Regions from separate parts of the Homo sapiens genome. Here region 1 is linked to region 2. Evidence: promoter capture Hi-C in 16 types of primary human blood cells and fetal thymus (Javierre and others, 2016). All regions are on one chromosome and are shown on one strand. Each heading gives the region's core, a stretch centred on a gene start or on the middle of the fragment in contact. The rest is flanking DNA. Distances are from core to core; before and after follow the strand shown.

Region 1 (3,847 bases), core at 746-3,245, 120 kb after region 2:
GACCATGGCTTTGGGGTCAGAGGCAGCAGCGGCATCAGTGCCTGGGGTGCAGGAGCTCTTGCTGCTGTATCGGTAATGATGTGTGAGGTGCAGGCATTCATGAAGTAGCTGTGGAGCCTGGGTCTGGTGTACAGGCATGTGTAGGGTTACCACTGCTCCAGGGAGCAGGTTGCTGACATGACTGCTGCAGTGGTAGCTCCAGTATTAGAGTGGCCACAGACCCTGGGTCTGAAACATAAGTATGCTTGGAACAGTGGCTCCACTGACCAGGGTGCAGGCTAGCTCATTGTGATGGTGGTTCTGGTGTCTGGGGTGCAAGCATGGTTAATGCAGCCATAAATCTGGGGCAGGGAGTTCACAGGAAATCAGAGAAAGGGTTGCCTCAGTCCCAGAGCTGCACAACAGTGGCTTCTTTTAGGGGTGACATAGCATTATCTCCCTCTCCAGGGAGTTCACAGTGTTGATTGCTATTAGTTACCTCAATGGCAAAAGCTTCCAGTGCCCTCTGCAGAGCATGCCACTGGGGACCACAGTGGAACCCACTGTGTAACTGTGACTCAAGCTGATATCCCCTGCTCTATGTTCCTGTTTCTAGTCATCTCTACACATCTCAGGTATGCTGATATCCCCAACAATCATTATGTGTTATTATTATCTATTTTTTGCACCACTGTGTTGCTGCACGTTCTTAATTAGACCCTTGAGCCCTCTCAAAACTATTTTCCTTTGTGGATTGATGTATTAGTCCATTCTCATGTTGCTATAAAGAACTGCCCAAGACTGGGTAATTTATAAAGGAAAGAGATTTAATTGACTCACAGTTCTGCAGGGCTGGGAAGGCCTCAGGAAATTTACAATCATGACGGCAGGGGAAGCAAACATGTCCTTCTTCACAAGGCAGCAGCAAGAAGTGCAGAGTGAAGGAGGAAAAATCCCCTATAAAACCATCAGATCTCATGACTACTCCCTCACTATCATGAGAACAGCTTGGGGGAACTACCCCCATGATCTAATCACCTCCCATGAGGTCTCTCCCCAACATGTAGGGATTATAATTTGTATTACAATTCAAGATGAGATTTGGGTGAGGACACAGAGCCAGACTATATCATTCTACCCCTGGTCCCTCCCAAATCTCCTGTTTCTCACATTTCAAAACACAATTATGCCTTCCCAACAGTTCCCCAAAGTCTTAACTCATTTCAGCATTCATCCAAAGGTCAAAATCCATAGTCTCGTCTGAGACAAGGCAAGTCCCTTTTGCCAACGAACCTGTAAAATCAAAAGAAAGTTAGTTACTTCCAAGATATAATGGGAGTACAGGCACTGGATAAATGCACCCATTCCAAATGGGAGAAATTGACCAAAACAAAGGGGCTACAGTCTCCTTGTAATAGGGCAAATTATTAATTATTAATAGGGCAAACAACAAAGGTTGTCCATGAGGGCTCCACCCCTGCAGCAAACTTCTGCCTGAACATCCAAGCATTTCCATACATCCTCTGAAATCTAGGCAGAGGTACCCAAACCTTAATTCTTGACTTCTGTACACTCGCAGGCCCAACACCATATGTAAGCTGCCAAGGCTTGGGGCTTGCACCGTCTGAAGCAAGGGCGTGAGCTGTACATTGGCCCTGTTTGGCCATGGCTGGAGTTGAAGCAGCTGGGACACAGGGCACCATGTCCCGAGGTTGCATAGAGCAGGGGGGCCCTGGGCTGTGCCCAGAAAACCATCCTTCCTTTCCAGGCCTCAGAGCCTGTGATGGGAGGGGCTGCCACGAAGGTCTCCGACATGCCCTGGAGACATTTTCTCCATTGTCTTGGTGATTAATACTTGGTTCCTCATTACTTAAGCAAATTCCTGCAGCCAGCTTGAATTTCTCCCCAGAAAATGGGTTTTCCTTTCTGTCACATTGTCCGGCTGCAAATTTTTCAAACTTTTATGCTCTGCTTCCTCTTGAATGCTTTGCAGCTTAGAAATTTCCTCTGCCAGATACTCTAAATCACCTCTCTCAAGTTCAAAGTTCCACAGATCTCTAGAGCAAGGCCAAAATGCTGCCAGTCTCTTTGCATAGCAAGAGTGACCTTTACTCCAGGTCCCAATGAGTTCCTCATCTCCATCTGAGACCACCTCAGTCGGGACTTTATTTTCCATATCACTATCCGCATTTTGATCAAAGCCATTCAACAAGTCTCTAGGAAATTCCAAACTTTTCCACATTTTCCTGTCTTCTGAGCCCTCCAAACTGTTCCAACCTCTACCTGTTACCCAGTTCCAAAGTAACTTCCACATTTTCATGTATCTTTACAGTAGCACCCCACTCTCTGTGGTACCAGTTTACTGTATTAGTCCATTCTCATGCTGCTATAAAGAACTGCCCGAGACTAGGTAATTTATAGAGGAAAGAGGTTTAACTGGCTCACAGTTCTGCAGGGCTGGGGAGGCATTGGGAAACTTACAATGGTGGCAGGGGAAGCAAACGTGTCCTTCTTCACATGGCAGCAGCAAGAAGTGCAGAATGAAGGGGGAAAAGTTCTTTATGAAACCTCAGATCTCATGAGAACTCACTCAGTATCAGAACAGCATGGGAGAACCACCCCCATGATCTAATCACTTCCCACGAGATCCCACCCCAGACTACAAGATGAGATTTGGGTGGGGACACAGAGCCAAACCATATCAATTGCTGTCTCATTGTTTTCTGTGGGGGAATGAAAGCTGGTATCTCATACACTGCCATATGGCCAATGTCACTTCTATAGAATTTTCAATAATGAAACAAAAAGCTACAGGGCTAGCACCTCATACAGATTATACAGTCTGTCCCACTTGGTAATAATGTAAAAAATACCACTTATCTTAATCATCTATCTTGTAAACCTACAGACTTTCATCTTTCTTTACTCCTTTTAGAGTCTCTTACGTCTTTGTTTTCTGTGAAGTAAGATCCTATCGGGCAGGGACTGTGGTTTCTACAAGTGGTAATTAAAAATTATTAAATACCTTGAAAATGTCATAATCTGTGACCCGTGGTTGGTGTTTTGTTTAATCCTCAAAACAATCCTATGAGATAATTTGTATGATGGCAGAGCAGGGAAGGCAGTGATCAGTAGACCTACAATTAAGTAAAACCAGAGGATACAGCTGATAAGTGGTGGTAAAATCTCAACTTGAACACAAGCCTCCATTGATTCTAAATCTTGAGTGCTTTAGACCAACCATATTATTCTAGTGTCTTTCTATTTCTCTCAGATTCCCCAGAACACCTAACACAGTGGCAGGTACTTTATAAAAGAATTTTTAACAAATATTTGTTTAAATAAATTAATTTTGTTATAGGCCCTCAAATTTAATAAATCTCTAGTGTAAATCTACATTCTTGAAAGGCTCTTATATTATCCATTCCTTGATTTTTTTCTCTATGCCTACTTTATTTTTGCTTTCTCCTCACTTGTACTCCCTCATTCCTTCCCTGATGCTATCAGGCCCCCTGAAAAGGAAGCTTTTGTTTAGAAAGTTATAGCACAACTTGTGCTGCCACTTAGCCACTTGAGAATTTCTGGCAGAAGTCTTATGAAGAGCATGACTTACTGTAATTTGAGAGGCTCTTGTTTTATTTAACATTATGGGAAAAACAATCATCAGGTCAGACCAGCACTTCTTATGTAATGGGGATTTAGGCTCAACTGTCTACATGTCTAGACTAAGCTTGGGACCCTATTTTTCCCCAGGCTCCTTAGCTAGGTTTATTCCTCTTCCAGAAAGACTTTTGTTGGCGCATACATGAGTTCCATTTTCAATTGACACTAAACTAACAGAGCAGTCTACCAAGACAGGAGGAAGTCA
Region 2 (3,807 bases), core at 202-2,701:
AGAAATGCCTCTGTTGCACATAAGCCTTGTATACAGTTATGGAATACAAATTAATGGGCTACTGTGGAAAAATTGGCCAAAGCTATACCTACTCTAAATTAATATCAATAGGGGACTGCTTCCTCCTGCATCTTTTCTCAATTACTTTTACTTATCTTAAGTGGTAGAACTATATCTTTGAAATCTTTGCTGGTCAGTTCCCTTAAGAAAAGTGTTTCTGCAGTCACATTTCAACTCTTTCTCAGATGGACATATGCCACTTTATTCTCCCCAAAACTTAGAGTCTTCAAATTTAGCCAGAAATAGGCTAAATCCTGAAATAAATAAAGCATTTCTTATTTTCTTTTTGATCAGTGCTACGTAGTTAACTGTGAGGAAAGATTTTTTAGTAAAGAACAAAACTAATCTCCATTCCCAGTGTACCATCCCATTCTCTAGGCCCACAGCTTGGCCTGCATCTCAATGGGAAATTCCTGACAAGCATCAGGGGCTTCCCAAATAGATATGGGCTTTCTCATTCCTCCATGAAGTCTTCCCTGATCAACTCAATCTAAAGTCATTGTTCCCTGCTTTTGAGTGACTTAGGCATTTATTCTTCATACTACCCTTAAATAAATTCTTGATCATGACATTTTATAGCTAGAAGAAACATCATAATAAATCCATTCCCCTACCACCAGTTTTTTTAGATAAAGAAGCTGCAAACTAGAGAGATTAAATGTCTTTATCAAATTTATACAGCTGGTTATTAGGAGACCCAGAACCAGAATCCAGATCTTCTTACACCTAGCTCAGGGCCACTTCCCTCCTCAAAGACACACAAACCACCTGTCATTTACTTAATCCTGTCTTTCACTATTTTTTTAAGTCTTTTCCATAAATAAGACTATAGCTTGCATCCCATTCCTTGATATTCATTCATATTTTTACCTTTTTTATTCCACCAAGAGCTATAGCAGAGGGAAGGAAAAATACTCCACAGGCCCCTGTCAATTGGCTTAACCAGTTCTCTCTATCTAACAGAGTTCTGCAGCTAACATTTAGCATTTTCTGATACCTTTTATCTCAAAACCTTTAGATAAACTTCAAACGCCATGTCATGACAATATTAGAATTGTATTTACATTATGTATACACATCTCTTCCTTCCAACTATTGCTAACAATACTGAGTGACAATGATAACAACTAGAAAAACAAATAAATAGAGGATTATAGCAAATAGTAACCTTAGGTACAATTGCCTCCTTACCTCTAATTGGAGAAAAATAAAGATTAGCCAACTGAAGGAGCAAAGAAATAGCAACATAACTATTGAGCAAAAGAGCCACAGCTTCCAGGATGATCTCTGAGCTCCTTGAGTTCTTGAATGGCTTAAAGGCATATTTTCCAAGTGGCTCAAACACATTTTTGGAGAAATGAGAGCTGTGGAAAACAAAAATTCACAAGTGATGGGTGAAGGATGCAATGTCATGTTTTGTAGCAATATGGTAATTAGTAGTGGGTGTGGAAGGCGGAGTTTTCCTTCTGTCACTGTGTTAGAAAATGATACTTATAACTTAAGTGCTGACTCTCATTTGGCACCAGATCAAATACAACAAAAGGAACGGAAGGCTGAAAGCCAACACAAACTCAGAACATAAAAAAAAAAGCACAAGGGAAGTTCAGAGGGGAAAAAAATTTCTTTCCTAAATCAAACGGCAGTACAGTGCACGTGTAGAGGAGGCTTGGGAGAATAAAGTGGTGTGCTCTCATCTAAGAAAGTATTCCAGATTATTTCTAGATAAGAAAATCACTTTTTATAAGAAAAAATAAAGTTTGAGATTAATCCCCCTACCATACTCCAGATATCATGTACATGAGCGGCAGAGTGTTAGGAAGTTGGAGAGGCTAGGATCTCTAGTTTGGAAAAAATAGAGTTTTAATCAAGTCATCATCTTGTTTACCTTAAATACCCACAATTTTTATTTGTCAATTATACTTCAGTAAACCTGGAAAAATAAAATCTATACTCACAAAAATGTTTCATCAATTTCTAGTGTATAGAATGCGTTCATTCTGAGTCTCTAGAAAATATCAAGTGTATTACAAGAATTTAATAAAAAATTGTAAATACAACAAGCTCAATTTTATATTTCATCATTTTTAAACTCTGATAATCTAGTTCTGGCATAAGAAGTTATTTTACAGAAGGATATTTTCCTGCATCCTGCCCTCAGCCAGAGCTTATACTCTATTCCAAAAAAAAAAAAAAAAAAACCTTGGGTTTTCTTCCTGGGCCCAAAAATATGGGTTTACTACAAAATTGAGGAAGTCTCCTGGTTCTATGGACCTCAGTCACACAGGCTTTTAAATCAGACAGACCTCAAGAGCAGAGGCTGGCACTGCCCAGTTCCTACCTGCTCTGTGGCCTTAGGCATGTTACTTGAGTTCTCTGAGCTTCAGTTTCCTTCACTGTAAAATGGAGAAAATTTTCACTTTATAATGCTTTTGTGGAGAATGAAATGAAGGTGAAAAGTTTATGCATTCCATAAATGTTAGATTATCTCTTCTCTACCCTCTTTAGCGATGTAGTGAAGTTTAATTCAATTATTAAATCCTAGAAAAGAATGAACATTCTTTATCTTTCCCACAAGATAAAATTCACCTAAAGTTTACTTAAACAAAAGGAAGTACAATGAAAGTATTTTGGAAAACCTATTTTTTAATCTAAGAGAGAATTGACGATTTATAAATTAGAAAAAAGTCCAGAGATTTAACATCCTCCTTTACAAAAAAAGGAAACTAAGGACAAGAGGGTGTGAGTAGTGTCTCAAATCACTGCTGGCTGGTTAATGATGGAGTGAAAACTCAAGCCCACAGATACTGCTTTGTAATCCAACCATTTTGTCTTAATATTGCACTATTTACAATATTATTAGCAATATTTCTCTCTGAACTGTCAAAATTTTAATTTGGGCCCTATTTTACCTTGTTCAATAAACTACTTCTTAAAAGACCAGTTACACAAAAATGATTTTTCAACACAACAAATGTTTTTGTGGCTCTGTACTTAGATGCTGCAATGCAGGGATAAAGAATAAACTTACTCTAGAAAAAGACTGATGCCTTGATCCCATAACCTTTGCACTTGCATCAGATCTGGAATTCATATACACAAGCACAGAACTTAAAATTGGAAGTTAAATTATGTCCTTCCTGTTTTTATGATCTGCCCCTTTTCCTGTCTGCTTTCCAAATTTTTGAGGGAATTTCCCTGGCTTGCTACCTTAGGTAAACATTTATTCACATGAGAAACTGTTTTAAATAAAATCCAGTTCCTCCTTCCGCCTTTAACCACTGTTAGGCCCTGGAATATCCTTATTAATTATTTAACCTTATGACAGTATCTTAAGAAAGATGACATACTTATTTCAAGAAGACTATATTCTAGGGCCTCTTTTCATGAAATAGGATTTAGAAATGAGGAAACTTCAAGTTAAGACAGGTAACAGTAGGCAAGACTTTCTGAAATTCTAGAGCAATGAGTCACAGTTGGCACGATTTTGGTGTAAGTTATCAGGATTACATGTTATATCTCAGGATTTGACAAGAGGTAAATGAGCACCAATTCAAGCTTCGGGTTTATGGTCCGTCCCTGGCTCAGATACTTGAGCATGAAGTTTCTGGGTTTTTTTTGTTTGTTTGTTTTTCAATTAAATCTGACAAGCAAATCCATGTCAAACATTTACTATCTGCCCACTACTGTGCTAGGAGATTTGGGGGATATTTTAAAAAGTAAGAGCTGCCCTGGCCAACATGGTGAAAC

What was found. Contacts are between HindIII fragments. The CHiCAGO score rates a contact against its expected background, and 5 or more counts as called.
Region 1: a fragment that was not itself captured here is called in contact with the fragment with the promoter of TNFSF18 in region 2 in 1 of 17 cell types (endothelial precursors); the score reaches 5.7 in endothelial precursors.

What each region holds. Positions count from the first base shown.
Region 1 is chr1:173,172,085-173,175,931 of GRCh38, forward strand. It overlaps a transcript of TNFSF4 not described here. Among named protein-coding and RNA genes, the nearest start is that of TNFSF4, 33 kb to the right of the region's middle. The HindIII fragment of the contact is 3,011 bases long and covers 491-3,501 here.
Region 2 is chr1:173,049,490-173,053,296 of GRCh38, forward strand. TNFSF18 (TNF superfamily member 18) reads right to left here and starts at 1,452. Exons shown (of 3, transcript NM_005092.4): 1 at 1,252-1,452. The coding sequence starts at 1,407. The HindIII fragment of the contact is 4,458 bases long and covers 1-3,613 here.